Linked DNA regions of Homo sapiens: region 1 is linked to region 2. The links are contacts of gene promoters, found by promoter capture Hi-C in blood cells and fetal thymus (Javierre and others, 2016). All regions are on one chromosome and are shown on one strand. The core of a region is centred on a gene start or on the middle of the fragment in contact, and the rest is flanking DNA. Distances in the headings are between cores, read along the strand shown.

Evidence for each region. Contacts are between HindIII fragments. The CHiCAGO score rates a contact against its expected background, and 5 or more counts as called.
Region 1: a contact is called between a fragment that was not itself captured here and the fragment with the promoter of PCSK5 in region 2, in 1 of 17 cell types (M1 macrophages). The highest score is 5.8, in M1 macrophages.

The regions. Positions count from the first base shown.
Region 1 is chr9:75,262,250-75,268,522 of GRCh38, forward strand. No RefSeq gene overlaps it. Among named protein-coding and RNA genes, the nearest start is that of OSTF1, 180 kb to the left of the region's middle. The HindIII fragment of the contact is 5,169 bases long and covers 1-4,252 here.
Region 2 is chr9:75,888,282-75,894,636 of GRCh38, forward strand. It overlaps PCSK5 (proprotein convertase subtilisin/kexin type 5), which reads left to right and starts at 2,392. Exons shown (of 38, transcript NM_001372043.1): 1 at 2,392-3,092. The coding sequence starts at 2,901. The HindIII fragment of the contact is 12,342 bases long and covers 1-6,355 here.

The sequences.
Region 1 (6,273 bases), core at 418-2,917, 630 kb before region 2:
CACCTTCCGTGTGCTGTACCCATGGTCTAACCAGTCCCAATGAGATGAACCGGGTACCTCAGTTGGAAATGCAGAAATCACCAGCCTTCTGTGTTGATCTCGCTGGGATCTGCAGACCGGAGCTGTTCCTATTCAGCCAGCCATCTTCCCAGATCCAGTCAGATTTGCTCTTTTGTGGCTATTTTCTAGTTTCTGTAGGTTGCTTTATTATTTTCTATTCTTTTTTCTTTTGTCTTCTCTGACTGTATTTTCAAACAGCCTGTCTTCAAGCTCATTAATTCTTTCTTCTGTTTGATCAATTCTGCTATTGAAAGACTGTTGCATTCTTCACTATGTCCATTGTGTTTTTCAGCTCCAGAATTTGTTTGATTCTTTTAAATTATTTCAATCTCTTTGTTAAATTTATCAGGTAGAATTCTGAACTCCTTCCTTGTGTTATTTTGAATTTCTTTGAGTTTCCTTAATAGAGCTATTTTAAATTCCCTGTCTAGGTCACATATCTGTTTCTCCTGGATTGGTCCCTGGTGCCTTATTTACTTCATTTGGTGAGGTCATGTTTTCTTGGATAGTGTTGATGCTAGTAGATGTTCTTCAGTGTCTGGGCATTGAAAGGGTTAGGTGTTTAGTTTAGCCTTTGCTGTCTGAGCTTATTTGTAGCTGTCCTCCCTGGGAAGGCTTTCTAGATATTTGACAGGACTTGGGTGCTGTGATTTAAGATGTATCTGCTTTTGGCGGCATCCCAAGTCAAATAATGCTGTGATTCTTGCAGACTTAGACTTACAGAGGTACTGCCTTGATGGTCTTGGACAAGATCTGGGGGAGTTCTCTGGATTACCAGTCAGAGACCCTTGTTCTTTTCTCTTACTTTCTCCTAAAAATATAGTCTCTTTCTTTGTTATCAGTCACCTAAAGCTGAGTGACACAAGCACCCCTGTGGCCACCACCACTATGACTGCACTGGGTCAGACCTGAAGCCAGCACAGCACTGTGTCTCAGAAAGGCCTGCTGTAACCAGTCCCTGACCCAAGGCCTGCTGTAACCAGTCCCTGGCTACTGCCTATGTTCGCTGAAGGGCCTAGGGTTCTATAATTAGCAGGTGGCAAATCCATCCAGGCCTATGTCCTTCCCTTTAGGGAGAGGTCCCCCAAGCCCTAGGTGGGCCCAGAAGTTCTGTTTGGGAGTGGGGTACTAGAGTCAAAAGCCTTCATCTACCTGATATTCTATTGCAGTGTGGCTAAGCTGTCACTTATGCCACAAGATGGAAGCAGAGGAGCCTCACCCTGTAGCTACTACCAACCGAGGCCATGGTGAGTACTGCCAGACTAACACTCATCTTCCCTTAAGGCCCACAGTCTCTAAAGTCAGCTTGTCATGAAGGCTACCTGGCCTGGGACTCACCCTTCAGGGCAGTGGGTTCCTCTCTGGCCCAGGTTAGGTCCAGAAATGCCATCCAAGAGTCACATCCTGGAATCAGGGATCCCAAGAACCCTCTTGGTGCTCTAGTCCCCTGTGGTGATGGTGGTACCTATGGTGCAATACAAAGTCCCTTTTACTTTTCCTTCTGCTTTTCTCAAGCAGAAGTTTTGTCCCATAGCCACAGCAGCTGGCTATGTACTGAGTCTCACCTGAAGCCAACAAGTCTCAGAGGCTCACCCAAGGCCTTCTACGTAGTACCTGTGTATTACTACTGGTTATTTAAGGTCCAAGGGCTCTTTGGTTAGCAGGTGATGAATGCTGGCAGGACTGGGTCCTTTCCTTCAAGGCAGTGGGTTCCCTTCTGGCCCAGGGTGTGTCTAGAAATGTCATCTGTGAGCTAGGCCCTCGAATGGGGGCCTCATGACTCTGACTGGTATCCTATTTTGCTGTGGCTGAGCTGGTATCATAGATGTAAGACAACATCCTTCCTACTCTTCCCACTCCTCTCCTTAAGTGGAAGGAAGGGGTCTCTTTTGGAGTTGTGAGTTGTAGCCTGGGGTTAGAGGAGGTATGATGCGAGCACTCCCTTGGCTGCCACAGCTGGTGTCCACTATCTCTGGGCTTAGTTCAGCCCTAGGACTCGCCTAAGAGTTGTAGTCCTTATGGCCTAGATTGCCTTTCAAGTTTACTTGGAGACAGAGTGCTATAGCCCTTGGAGGCAAGGTTTGGAGGCACTCAAGCTCAGACTTCTGGGATTGGTGATTCCCCTCTGGCTAAGCCTGGCTTAAATGTTCCCTCTGTGGGTGGGTGTCAGCTGAGTTTGGTCTGGTTTTCCTTTCTGCTCTGACAGGACAGCAGTGAGTTCAGTGCATCACAATTGCTGTATTCTCCCTCCCCCAGCACCCAGAGAATCCCTCCATACCATGCCACCAAGGCAGGGAGTGAGGAAGGGGTCACAACGGTGATTCAGGACTGTTTTTAGTCTCTTCAGTGCTTCTTTCAGTGATATAAAGTTAAAAGGAGGTACTATGAGTGCTTACTTGATTTTTGGTTCTTATGAATAGGTGTTTTTTCTGTATAGATAATTGTTAACTTGGTGTCCTTGTGAAGGGCATGATTGGTAGATCTTTCTATTCCGCCATTTTGCTCTGCCCTCTCTCAACAACTTTCTTACCAGGTGGCATTTTGTATTGAAGATAGCCTTAAACCAAATTCTACCAAACCTTCCCATTTTTAATGAGTAAAGATACATTAAAACAGTTATACTACCTACCTATTCTTGTAAGCCCAGAAAGTGCCTTATTCTCCGACTTTTGGCATTTCTCTAAGCATCTTGAATGAGAGGCTTCCTGTGAGCCAATGCAACACCATTCTGGTGAGTAGATGTGAACTTCTTATTTGGGTAAATTGATAGTCTTCTGCAGTGTGAAAGGGACATAGGACCAAATACAGCCCTGGATTGTCCCAAGATATTAAGACACTGGGATTGCTGATTTTATTCTCCTGTTTTAAGAAAGGTTAGTGCGGCCCCAAGTATCTTTCTAACCCATGATATATCCTGAATTTTACTTATTTCCATTTATTTCACCAGAGAAAAATGATTTCTAATATTCTTTATGCTAAGAAACCCTCTGGTGTTTTTGGTAAGCATCTTTGAAGTTCTTACTAAAATACTTTGGAGGCTGGAATTCCTGATAAGTGAATTTCAGCTGCTAACCAGATGCCTTTTGATTTTATACAGTCTGCACTGAGCAATTTTGAGATAAATGACCACATAGCAAGTATTAGTACATGAACATTTCCTGTCTATCTAGTAGTCATTGGCATCAAAGTTTAGAAGTACCTAATCAATCTGTATAAAGTCTTTAATTAAAGGTGGGATAGTAGTAGATTGTCCAACTGAGGATGTGTTTTTAGATACATTTAAAATCTGAAAGAATAATATTGGGGAAATCGTAATTGCATTACGCATCTCTAGCATTCTCACTTCTACCACAAGGGGGCAGCATTAGCCCCAATTGAAGCCCAGTGTTGACAGCTATAATCTTAGAGTCTCTCCTAGTCATTGGTGTTGCTAAAAAGGATTAAAAAAAGCCATCACATTAAACTGAGCACCTAAATGGGTAGGTGCAGAGTTGGGCTTGAAGCTATTTGGCAGCAGGGGTAGCAAAGAGCTGGTCTGTTCTCTGAGTGGAAAGACCTGGGAATTGGGAGTGGGTGGGGTCTGAGGAGTGATTTGAGGCAGGTGGGGAACAGCCATCAGCCACATAAGACAGCGAAGTCACCTGAGGTGACAAAATAAGTGAGGAATCTCTGGCCTCAGGATAACAAAGGACTTGAAAAACAGGGATGTCTAATAGGGATTTTCTGTTTGTGTGATGCAGAATAGAATGCTTTCTTGCTGAGGGTCTTATGTGTTTCGATGCTTTGGAATTGTTGAAGTTAAAATTCAGCAGAGTCATGAAATTGGGGCCAGAGGTGACTTTGGGAATGTGAATCTCCTAGGAATTTATACAAATATTAGTAAAGGCAGTGGCCCTTCTATAGTATGGGGCCTGGTGATTTGAGAAAATCTTGTTTACATTTTAAGTTGCACAGTGACCCCACTCTCAGGCTAAAATCAGTGATTTATTTCAATAAATGTTTCTGGAGGAACTAATATTTGCTTAGCTAGGTGCTGTAGGGAGACAACACATTTCTAATTTAAATGTTTGTGCCAATGACTGTTATATTTGAAGCAACTGCACTGTCCAATTCAGAATATCCCAAGAGGGATGGACCTAGTGCCATAGTTGTCAGCTTTGTCTACGTGTTAGAATCACTTGGAGTTATTTAAAGCTTTTAAAGACACACAAACACACACATATTCCTAACCCAACATTATTTGTGTTCTCCATCTTTTTTTTTCCAATTCCAGATGGGAATCAAAGAAACCTGTTTCTTTTATAAAAATTATTATTATTTTTTAGATGGAGCTTTGCTCTTGTTGCTCAGGCTCAGTGCAATGGTGTGGTCTCTGCTCACAGCAACCTCTGCCTCCCGGGTTCAAATGATTCTCCTGCCTCAGCCTCGCAAGTAGCTGGGATTACAGGTGCCTGCCACCACGCCCAGCTACTTTTTGTATTTTTAGTAGAGACAGGGTTTCACCACGTTGGCCAGGCTGGTCTCAAACTCCTGACCTCAGGTGATTCACCTGCCACAACCTCCCAAAGTGCTAGGATTACAGGTGTGAACCACTGCGCCCAGCCTAAATTTCTTCTTAATACTCCTGTTCTTCAGTGATGCACAATTTCTAAAATGTCCCATTCTCTTTTTTAGCTTCCACAGTGGTGTAACAAGGCAATGGGAATTCACTCCACAAATCCCAGTACCACAAGAAGTTATCTGTAAGGTCTCCAGGGATGAGATAATCTACATATTTCCTCATGTCTGTTATAATGGCATTCTAGCCCAACATAATCATGTCCATCTCTTGGAATGCATTGTGTAGACTTTAACTTATATGGTTCTGCTCTACTAATGAAGTCAGTCTCTTTAAAAAATGTTCAGAGAAACTAATAAAGGATTATAAGCAACAAAAGGATACGGCCTAAGCCAAGTCAAGCCATTCTTGCTATCAATTCTGGAACAAATATATTAATGATATTCCTGTGTCTCTAATTTTATATAACAAACAGACAATCATTCTTCCATCATTTCTATTTCCTTTTTTTTTTTTTTTTTTTTTTGAGATGAAGTCTTGTTCTGTTGCCCAGGCTGGAGTGCAGTGGCATGATCTCGGCTCACTGCCACCTCCACTTCCTGAGTTCAAGTGATTCTTCTGCCTCAGCCTCCCGAGTAGCTGGGACTAGTGCCGCCATGCCTGGCTAATTTTTTATTTTTATTTTTTTGTATTTTTAGTAGAGATAGGGTTTCACCATGTTAGCCAGGATGGTCTCGATCTCCTGACCTCGTGATCCACCTGCCTTGGCCTCCCAAAGTGCTGGGATTACAGGTGTGAGCCACCGCACGTGGCCTCTTCCATCATTTCTTTGACCATGCCTAGGGACCATCAGTAACCCTAATGAAAAATGATCTTTGTTCTTTTCTGCTTTTGCTTAGTGCTGGTTTTTGGCTCTTCTAATCAAATGAGTCATTCCTGGAATGTTCAGTTTGTTTTATGGTTGTGGCACTCCAGGAAAGCAGGGCAGTTCACCTGCCCCATTCCACAGCTGACTGTAGCTGAGAAAGCTCCCAACATCTGTGTCTATAATAAAAAGCCTGCAAAAGGAAAATAAATCATGTTTCCACCTCCATTTTTTCCTGCACATTAAAGGCTGATCACTGAAAGTCATGATCTTGGCTCTGAATTGGGTTGCAGCATTTGATCTGATGGCACACAAAGCGAGATCAATATCTGCCACCATAAAAAGTCAATGAAACATAAATTAGGAAGAGAAAATTTTCTAACTCTGGCCCCAAGCAGTGACTAGTTGGGTGCAAGCCATACATTTGGGCAATGAAAAAAGAAAGCAGCTTTACTTAACAGCAGGGTAGACTATACTAGGATTATATTTTGTGCTATTCCTACTTCTCTTTATTGATCTGCATATAATGAATTGAAGCATGATGATTCTCTCTCCAAAGTTACTCAAGAGTTTACTAAAATGTTATCAGAAAGTTTCTAACTGTGGCTATAAAAGTATGTGAAACCAATCCAGGCACTGGTGACTGCTGACTATAAGCATTTTGATAATATAAGATGATATTGGTCAGCCCAAGACAAGGTCTTATCTGACATCTGTAAGAATGTTTTAAAGTTGTAATTCAGTTGGCTGTTGAGAAACAAATGTGTCTCCTCTCTGTCCTTGATTTTGG
Region 2 (6,355 bases), core at 1,142-3,641:
GACCTTGACTGAAGTCTTATCCCATCTGAAATTTACCATCTTCAAGAGGGGTAATCCAATGTCCCTATGCATAGATGCAGATTGTCAGAGTTAACAGTGTTGTAATAGATTGTGAGCTTTCGGACTCCATGGCTAGGGAAGCAGGAAGAGATGTGTCTACAGGGACTGGCTAGCAGGGAGACTGTACCAAAACTCTAAAGCACAAGCATAGTGCTTATGTTTTCCTCTTAAAAATAATAATAATAGGGCCGGGAGCGGTGGCTCACGCCTGTAATCCTAGAACTTTGGGAGGCCGAGGCGGGCGGATCACAAGGTCAGGAGATCGAGACCATCCTGGCTAACACAGTGAAACCCCGTCTCTACTGAAAATACAAAAAAATTAGCCAGGCCTGGTGGCGGGCGCCTGTAGTCCCAGCTGCTCGGGAGGCTGAGGCAGGAGAATGGCGTGAACCCGGGAGGCGGAGCTTGCGGTGAGCCGAGATCGCGCCACTGCACTCCAGCCTGGGCAACAGAGCGACACTCCGTCTCAAAAAAATAAATAAATAAATAATAATAATAATAATAATAATAATAGGACGGGCATGGTGGATCATGCCTGTAATCCCAGCACTTTGCGAGGCCAAGGCAGGCAGAGCATTTGAGATCAGGAGTTCGAGACCAGCCAACCCTGTCTCTACTAAAAATACAAAAATTAGCCAGCCTGTAATCCCAGCTACTCGGGGAGGCTGAGGCAGGAGAATCGCTTGAATCCGGGAGGCGAAGGCTGCAGTGAGCCAAGATCACACCACTGCACTCCAGCCTGGGCGACAGAGCGAGACTCTGTCTCAAAAATACATACATACATACATACATACATACATACATACATACATACATACATACCTTCAATAATAAACCACATTTACTCTACAGTATTCAGAGATTCTGAATTCCACTAATTTTTTGTGCCTCCCCCTTCCCCTTTCTCCAGTGTACAGCACAATTCATTGCACATGCTAGGTGCTCAAAACAGATGTGTTGAATCAGTCAAATAAATAAACGAATAAAATACATACACTTCTGCACATGTTTTAGTTCTTCTGATCTTCTATTTCTTCAGCTATAATGTGGGGATGATGTTATTTTGTGGGTTTGTTTTCAAGATTAAATAATATAGCATACCTTATACAATATGTAAAATGTCAAATGCTATGCTCAAAGGTACTAGTGGAATTTTAAGTCTGCAGGTATCTTTCAGATTTTAAAAAATCAGTACCAAAAGCTATAGGTGGGATGAGTTAATTAATCTCAAACACATTTAAATTAACAGGAAGAAAGAAATAGGGCATGGTAGGAGGAGAGAAAGGAGGACAGTTAGGGATATAGTGAATACTTTTAAAGTCAGTTGAATTATTTCATACGGGATAATTTTTCTTGTCACAGTAAATCACCCTGTGCCCCACCCCCGCTCCAGGAAGGCAGGGAGGTTGTAAAGGAGAAGCGAGAAGAGGGTTAATTTGAGCTCCCTCCTGCCTGCTGCAGTCACAGTGCATGATAGAGTAATGAAGGTGACGCCGCCACATATCTCATCTGAACTTCCTCTGTGGTCTTTTTCATATTAAAGTCTTTCACTGTTACAGGACTGTGCTTGGAAAAGTTGGGAAACTTTTCCCTTGGTGGAGAAAAAGAAGCCCTCGTCAGACGCAATCCAACAAATGAATGGAGTTATTTCCTTGGCCCAACATGTCCATCCACTAGCACACCAAATATTCATAGAAACATCTTTCCTCACTTCCAAGGCCGGAATTGTACTCTCCCGTGGCGTTGCCTAGTATCGCAGATTTCGAAAGTGAGCAGGCAACAGACTTGGCTTTCGAGCCAATTCTAGGAGTCGATGCGACTTACTGTCCTGTGTGGTAGCTTCTCCCGGGAGCAGAAAGTGTAAAATAAACAGCTGCTGAAAAGCATGAAGAATTAACGAAGTGAAAATCTCGAGTTATTTGTTCGGCAATTGACACGTAAGTGACCTCCTTAAATGCCTAGTTATTTAAGGACGTTTAGAACGAGGATGAATGAATCTTCAGGGCGGTTAATTCGCACCGGCGTGTAAATTTCTTTAGTCTTTCGGGAAGTGGCGGTAAATTCATACAAATCCAGCAGGGAGGGAAGAGAAGGGAGTAAAACCACGATCTCGGAGCGCTCTTCTCAGTCCTTTGGAAAGACTTGCCTTTACTGCCCGGAACCCTGGAGGTTACAGCTGGGCGAACCCGGAGGCGCTAGGACCTCGTCAGCGCCTGGCTGCGGCCGCTTTCAAGAGGGCGGAGGAGGGAGAGGAGGAGGGCGATGTGGGAAAGGAGGGGTGTTAAGGGGGGCGGGGGAAGTCATTTATGCAGAGCAGGAGCTGCTGCCATTGCCACTCAGAATCCTCGCGCGCTGCTCGGAGCCGGAGGGAGCGCTGGGAGCGAGCAAGCGAGCGTTTGGAGCCCGGGCCAGCAGAGGGGGCGCCCGGTCGCTGCCTGTACCGCTCCCGCTGGTCATCTCCGCCGCGCTCGGGGGCCCCGGGAGGAGCGAGACCGAGTCGGAGAGTCCGGGAGCCAAGCCGGGCGAAACCCAACTGCGGAGGACGCCCGCCCCACTCAGCCTCCTCCTGCGTCCGAGCCGGGGAGCATCGCCGAGCGCCCCACGGGCCGGAGAGCTGGGAGCACAGGTCCCGGCAGCCCCAGGGATGGTCTAGGAGCCGGCGTAAGGCTCGCTGCTCTGCTCCCTGCCGGGGCTAGCCGCCTCCTGCCGATCGCCCGGGGCTGCGAGCTGCGGCGGCCCGGGGCTGCTCGCCGGGCGGCGCAGGCCGGAGAAGTTAGTTGTGCGCGCCCTTAGTGCGCGGAACCAGCCAGCGAGCGAGGGAGCAGCGAGGCGCCGGGACCATGGGCTGGGGGAGCCGCTGCTGCTGCCCGGGACGTTTGGACCTGCTGTGCGTGCTGGCGCTGCTCGGGGGCTGCCTGCTCCCCGTGTGTCGGACGCGCGTCTACACCAACCACTGGGCAGTCAAAATCGCCGGGGGCTTCCCGGAGGCCAACCGTATCGCCAGCAAGTACGGATTCATCAACATAGGACAGGTAACGAACTACAGGCTAGCCCAGCCCTCGGCCCTGAAGCCACTGGGGGCTTCTTGTCCCCTCTGCGTGGAACCCCCTCCCCCTCTTCCAGATGTGCTCTAGCAGCTGTTGCCCTAACTCTTGGGCGATGCTCTGTCTCCTGCGCGCGCGCGCGTACGCACACACACACACACACACACACACACACACACCCCAGAGTTGCCGGGTCCGTGTTTTGTTTACTTGTCTTTTCCAAGCCACGCGGGACTGGTAGGGTCTCGGGAAAAATCCAGAGTGCCCCCGTGGTGGCTTCAGAGACGGCTGGACCTTTTGACCTGAAAAGTCGAGTAGCACTAGTAATCTGAGGCAGTCTCAGAGAGGGTGATCGTGGGGAGAGGGGGAAATTAGGTCTTTTGGGGGATAGGGGGTGAGCGCGCCTCTGATGCCTGCGGGGAAGGGAAAGCCTTTCCTGCTCGGACCTGAATTTAGCCCAGAAAGAAGTTTCCTCTTGGGCGAGAGAACCTCTGGCGCTGGAGACTCCGGAGGCGCGGGGACTGGAGCTGGAAGGGAGGAGAAAGGAGGGGGAGGGAAGAGGGGGCCGGCCCCGGTGTGAGTGCAGATTTAGGGGAGACCTCTAGGCTTTCTCGCCTTAAGCGAGGTCCGCGTGGGGGCTCCCGGAAGGGAGTTGTAGTGGGGAGGTGGGAAACTTCCGAAACCGGCTGGCTGGGTTCCGCTCCGGGAAAACGAGGAGTCTTACCCCGGGACGGAAGGTGCCGGGCCGGGAGGTTGCGCCGTGGGGCGAGAGTTGGGCAGGCAGCAGGGGCGCGGGGTTTTTGTGGGGTGCCGCTCTCGGGCTTTTGGCAGAGCTCTCCTGCTAGGGAGAAATGCCCATAAACTAAGGTGATGCTATGAGGATGATTGGAAGCGTAACAGATTTGGAAGTACTCCGGGTTCAGTGGTCTTGGCTTTCTGGTTCTCTTCCCCCGACACCCCTGCGAGAAATGGGGGTAGAGAGGGCTATGAAAGTGGGTCCCAGAAAGTACCCCCCTCCACATACACACCGCAAGCATCTTTGGGGTTGGCCGGAGGGGCGGGCCCTGGCTGGGCTCAGGCGAGAATCCGCTGGAATGGGAGGTGAGGATGATGGATGGCGCCTTTCCAGCAGGCGCGCTTTGGGGACTGCCCGGGGTGCACGCACCCTGCGTGCTCTGCCAGGGGGAAGGGAGAGGGAGGTGCTGGCTGGTGCCGGCGGAGTGGGAGAGTACGGACAGTTTCTGAGGCCATTGCGTTCCACGCCCAGGAACCCGGGGACACCCCCCGCCCCTCCTCCCCGCCGCCTGGGGGATGCGGCACCTGGAGAGGAGGCAGAGCTGCTGTCGCCGCGTTTAGAAGGAGCTGGGGAGTGCGGGGAGTGTTCAGAGGAGCAAGAGCACAAGATCTTGCTCTTTGCCCGCCCAGAGGGAGGACATATTCCAGAGAAGCCAGCCCTGTGGAGAACTGAGACTAGGGCAAGGGGCACGGTTTGTATTCCCTCCTGCCCCTGGAACTAAGGAAGTAAGGGAAGCCAGCCAGATTTTGTTGCTTGAGTGACTGTTATCTGCGGAAGATTTCCATTCTAAAGGCTCGTTGGGATTCTACTGGCTTCTTTTTCTCTGGAAGAAAACACTGAGTCCGTTCAGGTCTTTTTACATGAACTTAAAGTTGGGCACTGCCTATGCCCTGGGAATGGAACTGGGGAGGCTAGCACTGAAAGTAGCTAGTACTATTAATCTTTCCAGAGATTCATCTCGGGTTCTGCTAACATTGAACATCTCACACATGACCAGGCATTTTTGGAGGAATAAATTCTTGAACATACCCTTCTTTCTTAATCTCAAAACAACCTTGTTTGGTGAATATTACCTCACACACAGGAGATGAGGAAACCGAGACCAGCTAGACAGTGGCAAAGCAGTGATTCAGACCTGCTACTCTGACTGTTGCAGGCCCAGTCCCCCATGGATCCTGCCTTTTAGGGAACCCTTCCATGCCATGATGAAGGAGGAAGGAAGTAAAATCTCCATTTCCTTGAATTCTGATTTAATGGCTCAGTAGGCTGGAAGCAAATATCTGGTCTCAGTTCACAGATATTTAGTTCAAACGCACCTAGCTTTCTTGACTTTAACAAGGGCAGAAACAGCTGTTACCTTTCTGAATTAATTGAGCAGAACTGGTATATGACAGAATCTGGCATAGCGAGATGGGAGAAATTGTCACCAAATCCACTTTTGAACAAGCAAACATTGCAATGTCCTGCAACCTCTGCTTGACTATTTACAAAAGGCCTTATAGTGAAGATTCATGGCTTCTCATTAAAAATAATAATGCTAAGAAAGTTTACATACAAATAACACCAAGGATGATTTATTGTGGTTTTACAGCGCCAATGAGGAAATTTAGTGCTTATAGAGGTTACAGAGGACCCCTTGAACCAGTGTAAAAAGATCAGCTATTCTACAGTGGAGAGCATTTCCTCTGTAGATCAAAGGAGCTTAAGCCTATGCTAAGTCTTTGGGGTGGTAAATGGAGTTCACACGTGCAATATCATTGCACTGTACAGGCCAAATGTATTTCTTATTCATCCTTTACTGCTCTGACCTTTCAACACTTTAGACATCCTTTTGTTATTCTTTCCATCAGTAAACCAGCTGTGGATCAGCTGAGGGCAGTAACTAATTTGCAGATGCGTCTGGAATGTTCTGTTTTTTACCCATTTGGGCTTGGGGTCTCATCTTACGTGTTGCAAATTGGAACTGAAACTTGTTATTATTTCTGCAGTCATTTACTATCCTGGTAGTATTTTTTATATCTTCGGTATGATATTCTAGGTGAGTAAGGTAGTAAATTTTCACCACAGTAAAGGTATAGTTTTGACCATTTGCTCAGAATATCAATGTAATGTTTTGTGTAGCATCTTAGCATTTGAAAGTCACGAGAGGTAAGATTTCTGGCCAGGGCATTTCTATGGAAAATAATAGCTGTGCCTCTTCTGTTAAAAAAAAGATGGGATGTGCAGAGTAACACAAGAAGAAAGCAAACAAACAAGCAAAAAGGACGTGCTTGATTTCCAGAAGGGAACATAAATGAAGGTTTTCTTGCCTTTGTTCATAGAGCTAGCATATGTTTTCACAAAATGTTTATATTTTGTGAATGGTTGTGCCTTGAAATCCTGCAATAATAATACTTAACCATAATCATTGTTAGTTGTTGTCATGTTAGCATATATTATCTTTTGGTTGGTATCG